Regions from separate parts of the Homo sapiens genome. Here region 1 is linked to region 2. Evidence: promoter capture Hi-C in 16 types of primary human blood cells and fetal thymus (Javierre and others, 2016). All regions are on one chromosome and are shown on one strand. The core of a region is centred on a gene start or on the middle of the fragment in contact, and the rest is flanking DNA. Distances in the headings are between cores, read along the strand shown.

Region 1 (6,071 bases), core at 519-3,018, 190 kb after region 2:
TCAAGGGATTCTTGTGCCTCTGCCTCCCAAGTAGCTAGGGTTATAGGCATGTGCCACCATGCCTGGCTAATTTTTTGTGTTTGTAGTAGAGATAGGGTTTTGCCGTGTTGCTCATGTCTGGTCTTGAACTCCTGCGCTCAAGCGATCTGCCCTCCTCGGCCTCCCAGAGTGCTGGGATTACAGGCGTGAGCCACCGTGTCCAGCCCATAGTCTTATAGGTTTAGTTCATTTCTCACCCATGCCAGCCTGATGGGCCCTTTTTTTGTAGCAGCAGTTTACTTGAATATTGACAATGCCCAAATGGAATAACAAAAAGTGTTGACATTCTTCTTTTTTTTGAGACAGTGTCTCACTCTGTTGTCCAGGCTGGAGTGCAGTGGTACAATCTTGGCTCACTGCAACCTCCACCTCCTGGGTTCAAGCGATTCTTCTGCCTGAGCCTCCCAAGTAGCTGGGATGACAGGTGCACGCCACTTGCCTGGCTAATTTTTGTATTTTTAGTAGAGACAGGGTTTTGCCATGTTGGCCAGGCTGATCCCAACCCCAGGTGATCCTTCTGCCTCAGACTCCCAAAGTGTTGGGATTACAGGCGTGAGTGACCACACCTGGTCAACAGGAATTTTTTGATGTTGACATAACTAAGTGAATTTTAGATCTCCTTTAAAGTTTTAGGAAAGCTGGTTGTCCTTATTATTCCAATAATCTGAAGAAGGCCTCCTTTCAGAGTTTCCAGATAAAATGTGGGACATACCCAAAAAAAAATTATTTGGTCGGGTGCAGTGGCTCACATCTGTAATCCCAGCACTTTGGGAGGCTGAGGCGGGCAGATCACTTGAGGCCAGGAGTTTGAGACCAGCCTGGCCGACATGGTGAAACCCCATCTCTACTAAAAACACAAAAAAATCAGCTAGGCATGGTGGCACATGCTGGTAATTCTAGCTACTCAGGAGGCTGAGGCATGAGAATCATTTGAATTTGGGAGGCGGAGGTTGCAGTGAGCTAAGATTGTGCCACTGCACTCCAACCTGGGTGACAAAGCAGACTCTGCCTCTAAGGAAAAAAAAAAGTTATTTGTTGTTTAGCTGAAATTCAAATTTAAATAGGCATATGGTTTTTGTTTTTGAAATCTGTTATCCATACCGCCTGTGCATGTGTGTGCATAAGAAATAATATGGGGCTGGTGTTTTATCTTATTTTTAATTTTTTTGTTTGTTTGTTTTAGAGACAGGATCTCACTATGTTGCCCAGCTGGTCTTTCAGCTCCTGGGCTGAAGCAGTCCTCCTGCCCTGCCTCCCAAAGTGCTGGGATTATAGGCATGAGCCACTGTGCCCGACCTGGTGTTTTAATTACTTTTTGAAAGGCCCAATACTTTTGTTTCATCTGCTTTTACTTTGTCTTTGGTTAGTCATAGAAAGAACTGAAAAAGGAGCCAGATGAAATAAACAGTGACTCTGACTTCAGCATCACTGTGGGCTTAAACAGATGTAAGCTTACAGAGAACTTTTGGACATGGAAAGTGATTTGGTTCTTTCCTTTCTGTGCTAATGTCAAATTTAGCTTTCACTTTTTTTTCCCCAGCATTTCCAGAACTCTCTCTTCCTTTATTCCCTTACAGTGATAATCATTTTCTACTCAATTTTAGATTCGATTGGTATTACCTTTGGCTTTCTTTTTGCCAGTATGGTCTAGCAGACAGAGCAGGCTTTGTAATCAGACCAACCTTGTTTTTATTCCAGACTCTTTGACTTACTAGCTCTTTGATCTTTTTGATATTACTTAATTTGAAGGCTCTTGTGAGAATAAAATTGAGCTAATATAGTTTACATAAAGCACTTGGTATTGTGCCCGGCACATTGTAATGCTAGTTATCATCCCTTTCCTATGCAAATTGGGATGAGGGAGTCAGCATTATCACTTCGCATTGTTGAAGTTCTCAATAATGACATAGAAACATAGTTACAAATGAATATTGCCTAATGGGCTGAGAATGGATCCCTTTAAAGTAATTCCTTTGTTTCAGTTTAATCATATTTAGCTGTGCTTTTAAAAGCTTGAATTTTTAGTCCTATTCCTGGCACTCTGTATTAGCTACCAATATTTGCTTTTAAAAATTAATAAAAATATGAAAAATCAAGAATAGGCAAATCCAGAGAGATAGAAAGTAGATTAGTGGTTCAGGAGCTAGGGAAGGAGAATGGGGAGTGACTGCTTAATCAGTACAGGGTTTCTTTTTCTTTTTTCTTTTAGAGACTGGGTCTCGTTCTGTCACCCAGGTTGAAGTGCAGTGGCATGAACACAGCCCACTGCATCCTCGACCTCCTGGGCTCAAGTGATCTCACCTCAGCCTTCCAAGTAGCTGGGACTATAGGTGTGTGCCACCATGCCCGGCTAATTTTTTATTTTTTTTGTAGAGACGGGGTGTTCCTATGTTACCCAGGCTGGTCTTGAACTCATGGGCACATCCCATGATGTTCCCTCTTCTAAAAGGACTGTTACTGCTTAAATTATACCAATTCCTGACTTTTTTGCTTATTGTCATTTTGTAAAATGGAGGCAAGGGAAAAGTGATTCAGAGAAGACGTTGTATTGTTTATGATTACTTTTATCCTTATTTTATTTTTGAAGCATTAAGAGTATCAACAGTGCTGAATTAAATGCAATTTCTTTTTAGTTTAAAGTTTACAGTGGTAAGTGATCCTCTGGATGAAGAAAAGAAAGAATGTGAAGAAGTGGGATATGCATATCTTCAACTGTGGCAGATCCTGGAGTCAGGAAGAGATATTCTAGAGCAAGAGCTAGACAGTGAGTCATTTTTTTTTCAGTTCTAATTATTTCCAAGGAAATCATCCTAATAGTGAATATATTTTATCTTCAATACATAATTATTACTATGAAGTTGATAAGACACAAAGTGGATTGAAATCTTATCCCTACAACTGTATTTATTTCTGGATCCAACATTAAAGTAGTCAGTTGTGTATTTTTACCCCCATATACCTGATTACAACTAGAATTGATTTTGAATCTACAATGTTTGAAAAGGAGATTTTTAAAAAGACAAGTTATTTTCATTTCAAATTTATACATCAGAATTTTGGACCTCTCTTGAGCATTTTCGTATAGGCAGCTGATGCCCATTCTTTATGTTATCATGCATCCAGTCTTTTTTTTTTTTTTTTTTTTGAGATGGAGCCTCACTCTGTCGCCCAGGCTGGAGTGCAGTGGTGTGATCTCAGCTCACTGCAACCTCTGCCTCCCAGGTTCCAGCTGTTCTCCTGCCTCAGCTTCCTGCCTCAGCTTCCATGGTGTGCCACCATGCCTGGCTAATTTTTGTATTTTTAGTAGAGACCGTGTTTTACCATGTTGGCCAGACTGGTCTCGAACTCCTGACCTCAAGTGATCTGCTTGCCTTGGCCTCCCAAAGTGCTGGGATTGCAGGTGTGAGCCACTGCACCTGGCCCATCTTGTCTCTTAAAAAGACATTAACTGTCTCCTCTTTCCTCACATTCACTGGTCATTAAGTCTTATCCATTCTACTTGTGAATTGACTATGCTCTCCTTACTACAATTTTTTTTTTTTTTTTTTTTGAGACAGAGTCTCTCTCTGTTGCCCAGGCTGGAGTGCAGTGGTGTGATCTCGGCTCACTGCAACCTCCACCTCCCAGGTTAAAGCGATTCTCCTGCCTCAACCTCCTGGGTAGCTGGGACTACAGGCACCTGCCACCACGCCAGCTAATTTTTGTATTTTTAGTAGAGACGGGCTTTCACCATGTTGCCCAGGCTGGTCTCGAACTCTTGGACTCAAGCAATCCACCCTCTTTTGCCTCCCAAAGTGTTGGCATTACAGGCATAAACCACTGCGCCCGGCCTCCTTAAATATAATTACTATAATTTCTTTCTTTTTTTTTTTTTTTTTTGAGATGGAGTCTTGCTCTTGTTGCCCAGGCTGGAGTGCAATGGACCGATCTCAGCTCACCACAACCTCTGCCTCTTTCTTAATCAAGCGATTTTCCTGCCTCAGCCTCCCTAGTAGCTGGGATTACAGGCATGAACCACCACGCCCAGCTAATTTTGTATATTTAGTAGAGATGGGGTTTCTTCATGTTGGTCAGGCTGGTCTCGAACTCCCAACCTCATGTGATTCGCCCTCCACTCAGCCTCCCAAAGTGCTGGGATTACAGGCGTGAGCCACCGCGCCCAGCCATATAATTTCTAAACTGGTCTTCCTGCCACCGGTTTCTTCTACCCCATTTCCATCTACTATAGTAAATACATAATACATTTGATCACTGCCTTCTTCTTAAATCCTTTTACAGTTTGCTATAGATCAGCATGTTTTAAAAACATTTGTATTTGAGTACCTTTAGTTGGGACTGCGCTGTCCAGTCTTCACTGTTCCCATTACCTTACATAGCTGGGATGTCACCTATCTTATCTGCTAGGACCTTCAGACACTTAAGATTATCCACTAGATCAATGTTTTTCAAACTTCCAGACACACACCCCATTAGTGGATGTGAAACTGAATTAGTAAATCACAAGGAAATTTGAAAAATGCAAACCAAAACTGTGGGAAAGAAAACAGGAATTAAAGGCCAGGCGAGGTGGCTCATGCCTGTAATCCCAGCACTTTGGGATGCCGAGATGGGCGGATCACCTGAGGTCAGGAGTTCGAGACCAGCCTGGCCAATATGGTGAAACCCCATCTCTACTAAAAATACAAAAAAAATTAGCCAGGCATGGCGGCGGACACCTGTAATCCCAGCTACTCGGAAGGATGAGGCAGAATTGCTTGAACCCGGGAGGCGGAGGTTGCAGTGAGCTGAGATCAAGTCACCGCACTCCAGCCTGGGTGACAGAACAAGACTCTGTCTCCAAAAAAAAAAAAAAAAAAAAGAAAACAGGAATTAAGAGTACATAGCACATATTGTCTTGTGAAACTTGTTTTATGTATTGTTTAATGAATCATGGTATAAAATTATTCTTACTGATCATTATAAACATTTTTTGAGGAATACTCCTCAGACCCTAAGGTTTACAAAGTTCAAATGTTAGATAAGATTCTAATTATATTCCTCTAGTATCTTTCCAACTGTGATCCTTAGTCTTTTTCCTCATCTATAAAACGGGAATAACAGCAGTCTCTATCTTACTGAGTTGTGAAGATTAAGGAAGCACTTAAATAAGGGATTAAGGGGCTTAGGGTAGTGCCTGGCATAAGGCAAGTGACGTTATCTTTGTGGGCTATTTTCCAACTCACTCCTATCCCCATTCCTAAACATGCTATGTTCTTCCTGACCTCCATGCCATTTGTATGTGCACAGGGAAAATCCACTTAAGACTTTTCTGGTGATTTCTCCAGAAATCCTTTCCAATTTGTCCATTCTGGTGCAGATGCCTCGTTATGTCCCCAAAGCAACTTGTGCTTCCATTTATTATATAGCACCTATACACTATACCATTTTCCTTTCTCCTTCACTAGATTGAGTCCTCTTATGAAATGGGTAATTTCATTCATTTAGCATCCCCAGTACCTAACCTGACAAATACCAAGTATCAAAGTGTTCAACTGAGTGATGCTGTTTTTTTCCCTTTCCCAACAGTTGTTAGCCCTGAAGATCTGGCTACCCCAATAGGAAGGCTGAAGGTTTCCCTTCAAGCAGCTGCTGTCCTCCATGCTATTTACAAGGAGATGACTGAAGATTTGTTTTCATGAAGGAACAAGTGCTATTCCAATCTAAAAGTCTCTGAGGGAACCATAGTAAAAAGTCTCTTATAAAGTTAGCTTGCTATAACATGAATTTGGTTTACTGTGATGTCTAGTGTCTCTCAATCTAATGATGAAAGTTTAGAATGATGAAAGTTTCATTTGTAAAACTAGCTAGCTAAAGGCATTTTTCTCCAGTACCTTAGCACTTTACCAGGCAGGAAGCAGGCTTGCTTTCAAGAACTGAAAATGAACGGTCACAGGTGAATTTACAAAAACAAACAACAAAAAAAACCCAGTTTATTCATCTTTTAGTTCTTCCAAAATTGAAAATATCAAGTCCTACTGCTAAGGAGAAAAAAC
Region 2 (6,276 bases), core at 453-2,952:
CCAAATATATATTCATAGTTTTCCATTTGCTTAGCTCTGTGTTCTCCCTATCAGGAATTTAGCCAGGTGTGGTGGCATGCACCTGTAGTCCCAGCTACTCAGGAGGCTGAGGCAGGAGGATCGCTTGAGGCCAGGAGGTTGAGGCTGCAATGAGCAATGTTCATGCCACTGTGCTCCAGCCTCGGGGGTGGAGAGAGAGAGAGAGACAGAGAGAGAGAGAAAGGAAAGAAGGAAAGAAGGAAGGAAGGAAGGAAGAAAGGGAGGTGGGGAGGGAGGGAGGGAGGGTGGGAAAGGAAAGGAAATACACTAACTGGGAAAAATGAATGAAGCATCTCAACATGGATTACTAAATCTTGCCAACAGGTTGAATTATGCAACAAGCAGACACACCCTTCTCACTTCTTAGTCTCTAGGACACCATCATTTCTTCTGTGGCAGGTAGATGCAGAAGCACCTGCAGACCAGAGGGCATGCCCAATATTCACAGGGGTGGGCATGGGAATGTGCTCAGGGTGACACCACCTAAGGTAAAAGTTCCCTTGACTTTCTAAAGATATGTGGTAATGCATTGAGAAATCATTCCATTGTTTTCCTACCCCAAACCTTTATTAAAGCTTTCTTCACATCCTTGTTTCTCAAAGAGTACATGAGGGGGTTCAGCACTGGGATCACCACTGTGTAGATGACAGCAACTGTGCGGTCCTGGGTCAAGGAGTAGCTGGACCTGGGGCGCAGGTACATAAAAAGTGTTGTGCCAAAGAAGAGGCAGATGGCAGTGAGGTGGGATGCACAGGTGGAAAATGCCTTAAACCTGCCCTGGGCCGAGCTCATTTTCAGGATGGTGTTGAGAATTAAGAAGTAGGAGATCAAGATGGTGAGGGTGCAGCTCAAAAGGTTGAAACCAGCAAAAATGAAGAGCAGGATCTCACACAGTGAGGTGTCTACACAAGACAAGGACAGGATGGGTGGCCCATCACAGAAGAAGTGAGTGACGACATGAGCACCGCAGAATTTCAGACTAAAGATACAGCCAGTGTGGATAAGAGAATTGAGGAATCCTGCACTGTAGGAGCCCACAATCAGCGAGGCACAGACCTCAGGAGACATGATGGTTGAGTAGAGCAGGGGGTTACAAATAGCGGCATAGCGGTCATAGGCCATGGCAGCGATGAGATAGCACTCACTGGTGGCAAAACCCGCATAGAAGAACATCTGAGTCATGCAGCCAAAATAAGAGATCACTTTCCTCTTGGCCAAGAAGTTCACCAGGGTCTGGGGCACAACCGTGGAGGAGTAGCAGAAATCCAAGAAGGAGAGGCTCTTCAGGAGGGAGTACATGGGTGTGTGCAGGGTGGCACTCACATGGATCAGGAGGAACATGACCAGGTTCCCCAGCAGAGTGGCTGTGTACATGCCCAGGAACACCACGAAGAGCAGCCTCTGGAGCTGGGGGTCAGTGGTGAGGCCCAAGAGCTCAAACTCCATCCCTTGGCTCAGGTTTGCCCCTTTCATCCTTCTCCAGTGCTCTGCGATGGAGAAAGAAGGCACCACCATAAATGAGGTTGAACACCTGGGGCTCTGACTGGGTTTAATTCTGCCTAAGGACAGCCTTCTGAAGATGAGTCTTATTGAGGGCATTTGGCTTTGCAGATGAAACTCTGTCATAGAGAGGATCTTTTCTCCTTGGTTGGTTGGTTAGTTGGTAAGCATTACTTAAGCAGCAATGGAAAATATAAGAGAAATATCTACAATTGGTCTTGGGGATCTTAAAAATTCTAAGTAATGAAACAGTCACTCACCAAGTATATATTCATAGTTTTCCATTTGCTTAGCTCTGTGTTCTCCCTATCAGGAATTCAAGAGTGCCTGACCTTGGGAAGCTTATATTCTACAGACAGTATATTTTGTGTTTAAGCCACACATACTGTGGTATCAGACTGCTAAGGTTCAAAGTTAGGACTTTGCCATTAACTAGCTGTGTAATCTTGGGAATGTTACTTTACCTTTCTGAGTTTCCATTTTTCCATCTGTGAAATAGGGATAATAGCAACTGTCTATAAAGATTATTATAAAAATTCAATGAGTTATTTCATGCAGAGAAGTTGAACAAATTCCAGCACGTTGAGGAAGTTCAAAGAAGGTTAGCTATGAGCATGCTCACTAAGAAGATAGATCCAAAACCTAAATAAACATGATAAATGAGATGAACCCACAACAAAGCTTAGCAAGCAACCTACCACCTAACAGTATAGACAGAGACACACGTGCTATGCAAGCGTGACTAAACAGGCTTTCAGAGAGGCTGTAGATGGCTGATGGGTCAGCTATAAAACTGGCCCTGTGAAATCAGCACTACCCAGGCAATAATGTGAATACTTAAGGTAACAAGGGCTGAGAGTGTGGAGAGATGGAGGTAGTGTAAGACTGCATGTGGGAGCCTCCACCAACGGGAGAGTCTCCTCATCATCCATAAAGCTGCCCATCATTTCCAGAGAACAAAATCACCCTGGACTCAGAGGATGTTATGGCCAGTAGGAAAGGAACGAAGTGAGTGAGTCTTTGTGAAAATGCCTTTTCTATTTAGAGAGTGAACAAAGCTTGAATGCATCACCTAAACACCACACTCTCCTCTGTTCCATTGGCTCCTCTACCACGTGTCTTCCCAAGTTACCTCTGGGTGCTGAGCCAGTTAAGCACCCTGTGCTCTTGGGTGAAGACTCTCAGTTACAAAGACTTTGAAGCTAACAGATGTGGCTGAGTAGGACAAAAAGGGGCAAAAGTGAGCTGCCTCATCCTGCCCTGAGGAGAGTAAGCGAATAACACACCTGTGAAAAGTGTTGGGAGAATTTGGAGAGGAAAGAGCTGGATTGAGCAAGCAAACATTCTGACGAATTCCAATGACATAATTTCCAGAATCATCAAACTACCTGGGCAGGAGAAGATTCTGGACATATGTATAACTAAATTTAGTTGTCAGGCAGGGAATGAGGCACCATTTGTGTTGATAGAATACTGTGACTGGTGACAAGAAAAAGGCTTTTAGAAATGCCCAAAGAGGTAACATGCCCTAATAAAATTGAGACACAAAATATAAGTGCAAATTTGAACACAGAACATTAGCAACTGCTTTTAGAACTCATGGAATGCAATTCTGTGACTTATTTCATGTCACTTAGATGTAACATTCAGCTATCCTTACTCTAACAGCTGTCATTTTATAATAAATCTCACTATTGTAGAATGTGGGCAGTCCTAGATTTGGGTTGCAAATGTCTTTGGCGCCATTGGTGACAAAGGCCAATTCGACTTCAAGGCAAATTAGAGGAATTCAGATAAATGACTGTAAAACTCCCAGAGTGGAAATAACTTGCAGGCACTTTAAGAAAATAGAAAGGTGGTCATTAGGAGTGGAGTAGAATTTTCAGACCCAGCTTCCCATCTTCTTTCCTTGGTGGGCTGTTTCAATTTAGGTAATAGGTCTGCAAGTATCTCTCTGATTAAAAGAACAAAAGAAGAGAAAAATAGAAATATGTGCAATGCTCCAGACAGTATGGATGAGGCAGGAAGCATACACTGGGGTGGAGTGGTGGGATGGGATGGGGTAGGGTGGTGGGTAATACAGTGGATAGCTGATCAGAGCCTCCAGATTTATCATTTACTTTAAACCCACACTCTCTCTTCTGCTCCCCTCTCCTCTTTCATCTCTCTTCACCAATCTGCACTAAATTCAAAATTCTTAAGAATATAGAGTGACTCAAGGAAAGGATTATGGAGAAATTGGCATCTCTGACAGTTGTTCAAAGGATGCTGGAATTACCACTATTTCTATTGGCTATTGTTTGTACCTGTGAATGAAATGTAGGAGGAAAACTTAAAGATGATCTTATCATATGGGAGTGGATTATGGAGTGGAGTGCATAAGAGTGAGAGCAAATGCCTGGGGCCTGTGGATGAGGGAGGCATAGGAAAGAAGCTCTGTTTATACCCGACTCATTGCCCCCATCCCTGGGATAGCACAGTGAGAGCACATGTGGATATGAAGGGCAGGCAGCCAAGAAAAGCAGCCAGTGAGATTCCCTGAGCAACAGTGATCCCAAACAATGGTTCTTAAACAGTAAGCTGCCTTGCCCAAGGTTCACAGGAGAAGCTTGTTACATGTGCAGATTCCAGGTCCCAACCCACAGAAAATTTGATCCAATAGGTCTATAGCTTGGCCCCAAAGTCTGGTGATTCTGACTGAGACAGGAGGTCTCTGAACCTCACTCTGAGAAACACTAAACCATGGGGTACTTGCAGGAGCAAACAGATCTTCCTGAGCCACATATACGTATCTCTTCCTAGCTTGCTGGATTTGTCCGTGTCCTGGGAAATCAGCCTGTGGGTAGGATGGTCATCCTGGACATGCTCTTCCCTCCAGAAGACCTATCTGTGGTTAACCATTTCCGGAAATCTGGGTTACTACCTGATGATAATCTAACACCAGAGCATTTCTTCCTTCAAAGTAGCTTCAGATGTCCTTCAGCAAACCATGTAATTCCAGCAAAGCACCTGGCTTGATGTCAGAGCTGTTGCTGTAGGGGTCAGAACACAAGTCTTCCATGGAAACACAGCAAAGACAAAGCCAGACTCTGCATTCATAGACTGAGTCTGGGGATCAGAGCCTGTCACCGACTTTAGTCTTTCACGTTGTCAGAGGTGTGAGGCAGCCCCACTCCCTGTGAGCTCCTCACAGCTGATCTTGTGCTGGCAGGAGCAACCCCAGAGCCATCTTTTCCCCTGGCAGCCCAGCAGCTCACCACTGGGGAGGAGGATGTGTTCACTGATTAAAGTTTAAAAGGCAGGTGAGGAAGTGGGACTAATTAGCCCCATGAAGGCCCATTAAAGTGTTTGAAAAGTTACTAGCATCTCTGAGAGTCTACCCATGAGGAAACAAGTGGCTGGGAAACTGGGAATGAGGGGACTAGATCCACACAGATCCCTGCAAATATGCTGCTCATTCGCCCCAAAACACTACTCCACCTTCACTCTAAACTTAACTCTTACGTGATTATCTGTATTTCCTCGACACTGGAAAACCAGGTTTTTCTTTCTTCTATGCCAGTTACCCAATGTACATTTGTGCTGTAGATGAGAGCTGAGGACCTTCCTGCCCTTCAGGGTTATAGTAAAGTTAGAGGCATGTTATGTGGTTCCCAAATATTTGGGAATTTTCTAGGTATCTTTCTGTTATTGATTTCTGATTTAAAAGCATATGGTCAGAGAATACATTTTGTATGACTTGATACTTTTGAATTTATTGAGACTTACTTTAAGGCCCAGAATAGGACCTATCTTGGGAAATGTTCTATGTCCACTTGAAAGGAATATATATTCTGTTTTGTTGAGTGGAGTGTTCTATCTGTAACTGCCAATTAGGTCAAGTTGGTTGATATTGTTGTTTGAGTCTTTCTAATCTGCTGCTAATCTCATCCAGTGTATGTTTTCATATCAGACACTGCAGTTTTCATCTACAGAAGTTTGTTTTCAGTCTCTTTTTATATCTTCCTGTCTACATTTTTTGTACATATGGAATACCATTATAACTGTTTTAATGTGCAGTACAGCTTTGAAATCAGACAGCTTGTTGTCAAATCCCTGCTTAACAATTTGTTAGCTAGGTGACATCTAGAAAGTTTATTAACTTTGCTGATACTCATTTTTCTCACCTGTAAAATGTGGATAATAATAGTACCCACCTCATATACCTGTTGATAAGACTGAATTTAATAAGACAACATTTGTAATGATCCCCACAATAAATATTTCTTATTTATTACTGCTTAACAAAGCACCCTAAAACTCAACGTTTTAAGCCAATCACATATTTGCTCAAATATCTGTAATCTTGGCTGGGCTCAGCTGAGTGGTTAGACTGCTGATGTTACCTGAAGTTACTCATGCAGCTACAGTCATCTAGAGCCTCAATTGGGGCTGGATGGTTCGGTATGGCTTCACTCACATACTTCAGTGTGACGGGCTGGAATAGCTGGAGGCTGCCTAGACCTTTCCCTTCATAGTATCTTCAGCAGAATTATCAGACTTTTCATCACATGGTGGCTCAGGGCCCAAAGAGAGATACAGAAGCTTCCAGGCATCTTAAGGCTGGACTCTGGAACTCTTCAAGATTATAATAAAATCAGAGGCATCTTACATAGTTTCCAAATATTTGGGAATCCTCTAGGGATCTTTCTGTTATTCGTTTTTAATTTAATAGCATATGGTCAGAGAATACACTTT

Evidence for each region. Contacts are between HindIII fragments. The CHiCAGO score rates a contact against its expected background, and 5 or more counts as called.
Region 1: a contact is called between a fragment that was not itself captured here and the fragment with the promoter of OR5AU1 in region 2, in 1 of 17 cell types (activated CD4 T cells). The highest score is 5.1, in activated CD4 T cells.

Annotation. Positions count from the first base shown.
Region 1 is chr14:21,345,500-21,351,570 of GRCh38, forward strand. It overlaps RPGRIP1 (RPGR interacting protein 1), which reads left to right. Exons shown (of 25, transcript NM_020366.4): 24 at 2,673-2,803; 25 at 5,605-5,802. The coding sequence ends at 5,717. SUPT16H (SPT16 homolog, facilitates chromatin remodeling subunit) reads right to left here. Exons shown (of 26, transcript NM_007192.4): 26 at 5,977-6,071. Among named protein-coding and RNA genes, the nearest start is that of SUPT16H, 35 kb to the right of the region's middle. RefSeq lists a silencer at 3,673-3,852. The HindIII fragment of the contact is 561 bases long and covers 1,489-2,049 here.
Region 2 is chr14:21,154,361-21,160,636 of GRCh38, forward strand. It overlaps OR5AU1 (olfactory receptor family 5 subfamily AU member 1), which reads right to left and starts at 1,703. Exons shown (of 1, transcript NM_001004731.3): 1 at 505-1,703. The coding sequence starts at 1,512. The coding sequence ends at 577. The HindIII fragment of the contact is 1,266 bases long and covers 613-1,878 here.